Linked DNA regions of Homo sapiens: region 2 is linked to region 1. Evidence: promoter capture Hi-C in human tissues and cell types (Jung and others, 2019). All regions are on one chromosome and are shown on one strand. Each heading gives the region's core, a stretch centred on a gene start or on the middle of the fragment in contact. The rest is flanking DNA. Distances are from core to core; before and after follow the strand shown. Region 1 holds the start of GJA9 (gap junction protein alpha 9). Region 2 has its middle 20 kb from the start of PABPC4.

What was found. The method cuts DNA at HindIII sites, captures the fragments that hold promoters and counts their contacts. A contact is called where the count stands out against the background at its distance.
Region 2: a contact is called between a fragment that was not itself captured here and the fragment with the promoter of GJA9 in region 1, in 1 of the 25 tissues and cell types used here (lymphoblastoid cells).

The regions. Positions count from the first base shown.
Region 1 is chr1:38,878,318-38,883,580 of GRCh38, reverse strand. It overlaps GJA9 (gap junction protein alpha 9), which reads left to right and starts at 1,994. Exons shown (of 2, transcript NM_030772.5): 1 at 1,994-2,149. GJA9-MYCBP (GJA9-MYCBP readthrough) reads left to right here and starts at 1,955. Exons shown (of 3, transcript NR_037637.1): 1 at 1,955-2,149. RefSeq lists a silencer at 3,770-3,954. The HindIII fragment of the contact is 16,120 bases long and covers 1-5,263 here.
Region 2 is chr1:39,594,559-39,599,821 of GRCh38, reverse strand. No RefSeq gene overlaps it. Among named protein-coding and RNA genes, the nearest start is that of PABPC4, 20 kb to the right of the region's middle. RefSeq lists silencers at 1,104-1,233, 1,984-2,073. The HindIII fragment of the contact is 3,448 bases long and covers 873-4,320 here.

The DNA.
Region 1 (5,263 bases), core at 745-3,244:
TCTGTATCCTTGCAGACATTTTTCTATGTAGGATGAGCAGAAAGGAAAATGGATTTAAGTTAATGTCCAACTCATCCACTGTATTGAACTTCACTGAATCTGCTCTACACCCTCAAAGGGACAAATCTGAAGAACAAATTAGAGGTGTCCATGGTATAACTCCTCCTAAGCATCATTTGCTTCTCAGATTGATCTCAACTAGGAAAAGTTTTTGTTAATCGATTTTAGCTAAATATATATGTGTGTGTGTGTGTGTGTGTGTGTGTGTGTGTGTGTGTGTGTATATATATATTTTTTTTTTTCTTGAGACAGGGTCTTGCTGTGTCGCCCAGGCTGGAGTGCAGTGGCGCCATCTCGGCTCACTGCAACCTCTGCCTCCTGGGTTCAAGCAATTCTCCTGCCTCAGCCTCCCGGGTAGCTGGGATTATAGGCATGTGCCACCATGCCTGGCTAATTTTTGGTATTTTTAATAGAGACTGGGTTTCACCACATTGGCCAGGCTGGTCTTGAACTCCTGACTTCAGGTGATCCGCCTGTCTCAGCCTCCTCCCAAAGTGCTAGGATTATAGACATGAGCCCAGCCTCTAATTAGATATTTTTATGAAATGTAGGTTTTAACAGGATAAATGTGATACATGTATTGTTCTATAACTTGCTTTACAACATGACCTAGGGACCTTTCTCTATTAGTTCATAGAAATCTTTATTCTCTGAATTGCTGAATGATATAGATGTACCATAGATAACCATTCCTCTGTCAGACATTTAAATTATTGCTGCTTTTGTATAATTACCAACAGTGCTATGTGAACATCCTAGCATGTGCAGTGTGTCTCTGAATGTCTATGCTGAATGAATATTTCAAGTATCCAAAAGCAGAAATGCTATACTAATATTGATAGGTTTAAACTGCCTTTTAAATAGCTGTATCCATTTATATTCTTACCTACAGGATATGAGAGTAACAGTGTCTCCCTACTTTGCCAAAAGAAGGTATTATAAATCTTTAAAATTTTGCATTTTGATAGTTAAAAAATAATATTTCACTTAAATATGTATTCTCTGACTACCGAGGTTGAGGAAGTTTCGAGTTTATTAATAATTTATGAGTTACACATATGTAATTCAGATAACACATAATATAGAAACATGAATATATTGTGCATGTATGTGTGCCTATACAAATATATATATATATAAATAATATATATATAAAAATATATATGTAAATATATATATATATATATATATATATATATATATATATATATATATATATATTTGTCCCTGGTGAAATGTTTGTATTTAATCTGAGAAGTAGCTATTGTTGGCAAAAAAGCCCAGGGAAGAAGTATTTATCTGTTATGCTCAACCTGCCAGATCACTAGCTCTGAAGGGACCTTTAATGACCTAAAATACAATGTAATTGTTAATAACAGAACATGGGAGACAGAATCAGGATCTATCTATGAAATCGGACATGACCCATTTATTAAGGCAGATGACCAAGAAGTTATTATCTAGTAAGAAAGACTTTTTTGGTTCTAGAAACATGGTTTATTGCACAAAAAACAATGACATTTTATTAGGTTCCCCCAGTGGCAAAAGTTGCATACAAACAGCACACAAATACCTCCTGTCATTTTAAATTTGACATCTCTGAATTATGGAGGAATCATTCACTCAGCTTAATTTGGGGCTCATGACTTTAGTCTTCTAGATTGCAGTGTGTTATCAGGACTATTATAAGCATTCTTTATCTGTGCTGTCCAAAAAAGCAGCCATTAGGTAGATGCAGCTCTTTACATTTTTATTAAAATTATTTAAAATTAAAAATTCAATTGCTCTGACACACAAACCATAATGCAAGTGTTCAATAGCTACATTTGGCTACTGGCTGCCTTATTGGCTAGCACAGATAGAATATTTCCATTGTTGCAGAAAGTTCTATTGGATGGTGCTGTTTTAAAAGCAAGGATAAGCAGAAAGGGACATGGATTTTAGTTGATGGATGACTCACTCACTACATTCAACTGAACTGAATCTGCTCTATACCAGCAAAGGGACAAATTCAGAAAATAAATTGAAGATGGCCATGCTGTAACTTCTAAACATGGTTTGCTTCTCAGATTTACCTAAACTAAGAAAGGTTTGTGTTAATCTCTCTGTTTTAGCTTATTAAGAAAGAGTTGTTTGAAATGTTTTTATCTTTTTCTTTTGAATTCTATGGTACTGTATATATGTATACCAGTTTTTATGTCATTTGCTATGAAAGCTTTAATTTGTAGCTAAATACTACTGCTCCTTCTTTCAGGAAATACTATGTGTTGTCCTTTATGAAAAAAATATTTTCTTTCTTTTTATGATTATAAAAGTAAAATGCTTATAGTAAAAAATTAAAATACATGTAATTACAATATATTAAGTATATAATTTGTAATCCCAACATCCAGAGCTAATCACCGTTAATATTTTCATGAATATCCTTCTAGACTTTTTTGTATACATCTGTAAATGTAACTAAACTTATAATAATGGGGCCATATTATTCTATTTTATAACATCAATTTCACTGAAATGAAATATCAAATGCCATTTTATGTATGTTTATCATTTCTACTGGTTGCATAGTATCACACCGTGGATGTAGTCGATTATTTAACCAGTTTTTCTTGTATTATTATTTTATGTTTTTAGCTTATGACTATTATAAACAACATGAATTACATCTTTGCTTACATTATTATTATTTATGAACCATAAATGAGACTTAACTTGCTTACTTTTTTTTTATTTTTTGAGACAGAGTCTCACTCTATTGCCCAGGCTGGAATGCAGTGGCCAGATCTCGGCTCACTGCAACCTTCACCTCCCAGGTTCAAGCGATTCTCCTGCCTCAGTCTCCTGAGTAGCTGGGATTACAGGCATGTGCCACCATGCCCGGCTAATTTTTGTATTTTTAGTAGAGATGGGGTTCAACCATGTTGCTCAGGCTGGTCTCGAACTCCTGACCTCGTAATCCGCCCGCCTGTGCCTCCCAAAGTGCTGGGATTACAGGCGTGAGCCACCGCGCCTGGCCAACTTGCTTACATTTTAAAGTGCTTTGGGTTGTTGGGTCAGAGTATGCTATTATTATTATTATTATTATTATTATTATTATTATTATTTATTTTTTTTTGAGACAGAGTCTTGCTCTGTCGCCCAGGCTGGAGTGCAATGGTGTGATCTCGGCTCACTGCAACCTCTGCCTCTGGGTTCAAGTGATTCTTCTGCCTCAGCCTCCCGAGTAGCTGGGACTACAGGCGCCCGCCACCACGCCCGACTAATTTTTGTATTTTTAGTAGAGCAAGGGTTTCAACCATGTTGGCCAGGCTGGTCTCAAACTCCTGACCTCAAGTGATCCGCTGGCCTCGGCCTCCTAAAGTATTGGGATTACAGGCGTGAGCCACCGTGCCCGGCCAGAGTATGCTATTATTAACATAATAAAGTCAATGGAAAGTTTCTCTATTTCAGGAATACAACTATATTTTAGAAGGTTGATGCTTTTGCAAATCGTATTAACAGAGCCGGGCGCGGTGGCTCACGCTTGTAATCCCAGCACTTTGGGAGGCCGAGGCGGGAGGATCACGAGGTCAGGAGATCGAGATCACGGTGAAACCCCGTCTCTACTAAAAATAACAAAAAAATTAGCCGGGCGTGGTGGCAGGCGCCTGTAGTCCCAGCTACCCGGAGAGGCTGAGGCAGGAGAATGGCGTGAACCCGGGAGGCGGAGCTTGCAGTGAGCCGAGATCGCGCCACTGCACCCCAGCCTGGGCGACAGGGCGAGACTCCGTCTCAGAAAACAAACGAACAAAAAAAACAGAACAAAGGCTGAAGAAAGGAACTAAAGACTCTAGAACTAGTTATTTAAAAAGCCAAAGCTATCACTATTTTACATTCCTAAATTTAAATGATTAAACTTAAGAGAAAACAGATAATCTCTTAATGTTTCTTTCCGGCAAATTTGAAGTTTGCTTACAGAGGAAAAATAATAGTTTAGTAAAAAATTTAAGGAGCTGACTCTAAAGCCACAATGATTGGGTTTGAATGCCAGCTCCAGCTGTGTGACCTCAGGTAAATTAAGGTGTGCTTCCGTTTCCTCATCTGTAAGATGGGGGAAACAACATACTTACCGCATAGGATTTTAGTGATGAACACATCTTGTATCTTAGTAGTTTGTTTGATTGTGTAACAGTTCCCTTTATATAAAGGGGACAGGACATACATTTATATTTTAAATGAAAAATAATGAAAATATTCACTTTTAAAATCTTTCCTTTGGGGTATATTTCCTCTGAGATAACCTGGGATACCAACCTTAATATGCAATCTGCCGGCAAATAATCCAAGCAGCTAAATTATAACTTGCCCCACTGCTTCCTTCAAGAGAGCAGCTATATGTCTTAAATAGGTCAAATACTGCTACAGTGAAAGTTTCCATAATACTGCCACCATACCAGTGAACAATCTATTGCAAGTAATATCTATAATGAGATTCTGGTACCATAAGGCCGGGCGCAGTGGCTCACGCCTGTAATCCCAGCACTTTGGGAGGCCGAGGCAGGTGGATCACCTGAGGTTGGGAGTTCGAAACTAGCCTGACCAATATGGAGGAACCCCATCTCTACTAAAAATACAAAATTAGCTGGGCATGGTGGCGCATGTCTGTAATACCAGCTACTCTGGAGCCTGGGGCAGGAGAATCACTTGAACCTGGGAGGTGGAGGTTGCGGTGAGCCGAGATTGTGCCATTGCACTCCAGCCTGGGCAACAAGAGGGAAACTTCGTCTCAAAAAAAAAAAAAAAAAAAAGATTCTGGTACCATAAAATAGTTGAGAATTTTTGGAGTTCTTTTTGTTTTCTGAGACAGAGTTTCTGCTCTTGTCGCCAAGGCTGGAGTGCAATGGCGCGATCTTGGCTCACCGCAACCTCTGCCTCCCAGGTTCAAGTGATTCTCCTGCCTCAGCCTCCTGAGTAGCTGGGGTTACAGATGCCTGCCACCACACCCAGCTAATTTTTTGTATTTTTGTAGAGACAGTGTTTCACCATGTTGGCCAGGCTGGTCTCGAACTCCTGACCTCAGGTGATCCGCATCGGCCTCCCAAAGTGCTGGGATTACAGGTGTGAGCCACTGTGCTGGGCTTGAAGTTCATTTTAACGTAAGAATTTACAAAATTTGGGCTGGGCGCGGTGGCTTACTATGGGAGGCCGAGGCGGGTGGATC
Region 2 (5,263 bases), core at 1,347-3,846, 720 kb before region 1:
TATGTAGAAATACAATGTGACAAAACGAGTTGCAGTAATATGTCTACAGACAAATATTTTTAAATTACAGTTTGTAAAATTATTAAAATGATATAACTTCTTGGCCTTTGGGCTAAGATCAGGTGTAAAAATTATCCAAATAAATAAAATCACTTCACACCCATTAAAATGGCCACTATCACAAGAACAGGAAATAAGAACTCTTAATGAAGATGCAGAGCAATTGGAACCCTTATGCCCTGGGTTCCAATTCTCTGAACATTGGGTTGGTGGGAATGGGAAATGGTGCAGCCACTATGGAAAACGGTATGGAGGTTCCTCAAAAAATTAAAAATAGAATGACCATATGATCCAGCAAATATCATTTCTTAGTTTTTGTCCGAAATAAAGCAGGATCTCAAAGAGATAGTTGCACACCCACATTCATTACAACATTATTCACAATAGCCAAGAGGTAGAAGCAACCCAAAAATGGCCATTGATGATGCAACAATAAAGAAAATGTGGTTTATTCACATAGGGGAATATTATACGACCTTGAAAAAGAAAGGAAATCCAGTCACATGCTGCAACATGGATGAACCTCAAGAACATTATGCTAAGTGAAATAAGCCAGTCACAAAAGGACAAACACTGTATGATTACACTCATGTGAAGAATCTAAAGCAGTCAAAATTACAGAAGCAGAAAGTGGAAAGGTGGTTGCTGAGGGTGGAGGTGGGGGAGGGAGAATTCATGTTTAGTAGATACACAGTTTCAGTTTTGCAGCGAGAAAAAGTCCTAGATGTCTGTTTCACAAGCCTTTAAATACACTTAAGGCTACTGAACCTGCCCTTAAAATGGGTCAGAGGGTAAACAATGTTACGTGTTTTTTTTAAGTACATAGAAGTCATCATTTAAACCATTTTAAAGTACACAACTCAGTGGTTTTTAGTATATGCAGATGTTTTGCAACCACCACCACTGCCTAATTCTGGAACATTTTTATCACCCAAAAAGGAGCCCAGCACCCATTAATCAGCCACTTGTGTTCTCCTCTTCCCCCTTGGCAACCACTAATCTGCTTTCTGTCTCTGGATTTGCCTATTCTGTGTAAATGTAGTCATGTAATAGGTAGCCTTTTGCATCTGGCTTCTGTCACTTAAGATGTCTTCAAGGTTGATCTGGCGGGGCACGGTGGCTCACGCCTGTAATCCCAGCACTTTGGGAGGCCGAGGTGGGTGGATCACCTGAGGTCAGGAGTTCGAGACCAGCCTGGCCAACATAGTGGAACCCTGTCTCTACTAAAAATACAAAAAATTAGCTGGACGTAGTGGCAGGTGCCTGTAATCCTAGCTACTCGGGAGACTGAGACAGGAGAATCGCTTGAACCCAGGAATTGCTTGAACCCAGGAGACGGAGTTTGCAGTGAGCCGAGATCATGCCATTGCACTCCAGCCTGGGCAACAAGAGCAAAACTCTGTCTCAAAAAAAAAAAAAAGAAAGAAAGAAATAAGCCAGTCACAAAAGGACAAATACTGTATGATTACACTCATGTGAAGAATCTAAAGCAGTCAAAATTATAGAAGCAGAAAGTGGAAAGGTGATTGCTGAGTGTGGAGGTGGGGGAGGGAGAATTCATGTTTAGTAGATACACAGTTTCAGTTTTGCAGCCAGAAAAAGTCCTAGATGTCTGTTTCACAAGCCTTTAAATACACTTAAGGCTACTGAACCTGCACTTAAAATGGGTCAGAGGGTAAACAATGTTATGTGTTTTTTCAAGTACATAGAAGTCATCATTTTAACCATTTTAAAGTATATAATTCAGTGTTTTTTCTGTTGTTTAGAAGCAACCCAAAAATGGTCATTGATGATGCAACAATAAAGAAAATGTGGTTTATTCACATAGGAGAATATTATACGACCTTGAAAAAGAAAGGAAAACCATCTTAGTGGTGGTTGCAGATGTTTTGCAACCACCACCACTGCCTAATTCTAGAACATTTTTATCACCCCAAAAAGGAGTCCCACACCCGTTAATCAGCCACTTGTATTCTGCTCTTCCCCGTTGGCAACCACTAATCTGCTTCTGTCTCTGTGGATTTGCCTATTCTGTATAAATGTAGTCATATAATACGTAGCCTTTTGCATCTAGCTTCTGTCACTTAAAATGTGTTCAAGGTTGATCACACAGGGTGTGGTGGCTCACGCCTGTAATCCCAGCACTTTGGGAGGCCTAAGCAGGCAGATTGCTTGAGCCCAGGAGTTCGAGACCTGCCTGGGTGACATGGCAAAACCTCATCTCTACAAAAAATACAAAAATTAGCCAGGTGTGGTGGTGCGTGCCTGTAGTCCCAGCTACTTGCGAGGCTAAGGTGGGAGGATGGCTTGAGCCCAGGAGGTAGAGGTGGTAGTGAGCAGAGATCGCACCACTGCACTGCAGCCTGGGTGACAGACCCAGAGCCTGTCTCAAAAAAAAAAAAAAAAAAAAAAAAGGGCCGATCCATGTTAGCATGGATTGGCACTTGATTTATTTTTATTGCTTAATAATATTTCATTATATGGATAGGCCACATTTTGTTTATCCATTTATCAGTTGATGGACGTTTGGATTGTTTCCATTTTTTTTTTTTTTTGGCTGTGAGGAATAATGCTTCCATTAACACACATTCTGTTTTGCTCATCGAAATAGATTGGAAGGAAACACATCAGATTAGTAGTAACAACTGCTCCTGGGATTGAAAGGAGGGGAGGAATTGGACTGGGCAGAGGAACAAAGGGAACTTCAGCTCTGTCTATGATGCTCTATTTGTTTTATATAAAAAAAAATCTGAAGCAAAAATGTTAACAGTTGCTTATTCTGAGTGGTAAGCACATGGGCGTTAGTTAAGTTCACCTCTGAGCTTTCTATATTTTAAATGTTTAAACTAAAACAATGCATACTCTGGACCTATGCCTTCCTATAGCATAAGGGGGTTGTGGGGTCCAGGATAAGCAAACATTGAAGTGTGGGGAGAGGCCAGGAGGAAGAGGCCAAGCCATGGCTAGGGGGCGCAGGCTTGAGGCCCTTTGAGACCCAAGGCAGAAACTCTGACCCCACCCGCATGGCTCTTCTGGGACCCTTCCCCTGCCCAGGAAGAGGTCCTAGATCTAATCTCCATGACTCCTCAAAGAAAAGCCAGCACAAGGTCCAAGCTGGGAGAGACTGTCCTGACCCCATGTCTCCTGCCTTCTCTGCGTGCTCTGAAAGGGGTCATCCACCCCAGTGTCCTTACTTTCCACCTTCCTCAATCTTCTGCTCAGGATCAGCTACATCATTTGTGAGGCCAGGTGCAAAATGACAGCGTGGAGCCCCTTGTTCGAAGGCTGATGCCGAGGCAATTCCTAACTCCACAGGGGCAGCCACAATCTGAGTGGTGTCAACATGCCAGGGACTGAGGCAGGAGCCACCAGGGTGAGTAACTGGGTGCATGCATCTGTTCGCACATGCTGCATTCAGATGAGTGCTTAGCACGTGCCTGGCCCGGCTGGGCCCTGAGCATAGAGGGTGAGCAAGACACAGTCCAGCTTTGAGAAGCTTACATTCTAGAGGGGGCATAGATGTAATCACAGACACACAAGAGATCATCACAAATGGCAGTAAGTGCTATGAAGAAAAAGTAGAAGGACCATGAGATAACGACGGCAGGGTCCCCTGATCACGAGACTCCCAGGGAGGGACACTGGAGCCACGATCTGAGGGCCATTATTTTAGCAAAAGATGGGAATATAGTGCAAGGGTGAGATTGGGAAGAGCATTCCAGAACGTTCCTGGCAGATGAGCATGTGACATCTTCAAGGACCTGCAAGACCAGTGTAGCTAGAGCCAGGGAGGGAGGGACAGACAGCCCCCGATGAAACTGAAGAGAGGTCTAATTTCCTGAGCCTTGTTCTAGTACCATCGATGGTGGCTCCTCTTGTACTATCATTTCTTTAATATTTTTCTTTAAATTGGCTCCCTTTATATCCTCCTAAGCAAGAATATTCATGAAATTAAAGAATGACATAACACTTCTATTTTTCTAATTCACAGGTGAAATTTTAAAATGTCCTTCCACATCCACCTAAAATTGTCCACCTTATCACCTCAGTTTGGAAAAGACTTTTGCCAGCTCCTTTCTTAAGAGCCTTGGGAAGCCTCTAGCAGGATTTCAGCTGGGTGAGAGGCTGGCGACATGGTCTCACTTACATTTCTGAAAAAGGACTCTGTCTACCATGTGTAGAGTGGATTACAGGGGAGACGGAGAAGGAGGCTGTTGCAGGCATCCGGGAGGAACCACTGGGGGATCAGATTTGGGTGTTCAGGAGGAGAAGGGAGCTGGGCTTTCCCACCAGTGCCCACACAAGCCCTGCCCTCCAAAACCAAAATCTTCTTTCTTTTGTGTCCTTGTGCTGACTCAAGGCCAGTTCAGTGGGTTCTCCTGTGATCCTCCTGTGATCCTCCTGTCTCAGTGTCAGCTCCAGGATTCAGGACGGTGTGTCCAGTGCCCCTGTGAGAGCCCAGATCCCTGGGCCAGTCAGGCTGACCACAGTCGGGACTTTGGGTCACACCCAGTCAGGCCCTGTGGTCTCCAGTGCAGCAACAACAGCATCCACAGACAGGCCACTCTGTGCATGTTTCAGGAACTGAGTTATATGATTTCTTTCTTTCTCTCTCTCTCTTTCTCTTTCTTTCTTTCTTTTGATATAGCCTGGCTCTGTCACCCAGACTGGGGTGCAGTGGTGTGAACACAGTTCACTGCAGCCTCAAACTCCTGGGCTCAAATGATCCTCCCACCTCAGCCTCCCGAGTAGGTAGGACTGCAGGTGTGTGCCACCACACCTGGCGAATTTTTTTTTTTTTTTTTTTTTTTAGAGATAGGGTCTTACTATGTTGTCCAGGCTAGTGAATTCCTGGGTTCATGTGATCCTCCCAGCTCAGAAGTTATATGATGTCTATCACTCTATCACCTACGTATTGATGACCCCTAAGTCTACATGGCCCAAAGTCCACACCCTTAACCACTGGGCCATACTGCTTTTTTTCCCTCATGACCTATCCCTCATAGCCTTCCTCACTCCCAAGCTTTCTACCTTCAGGAAGACTTGACTCCCTCTGACATTGCTTCCCTAAGGGCTTCTGTCAGCTCTCCCAGCCTCCTCTGGGAAGGGCCCTTCCCCATTGCTGCTTCTAAACCATTGCTCCTCCATCTCCTGCAAAACAACAAAATCTCTCCGCTTTTAAGACTGCTGCAAAACTGCCCTG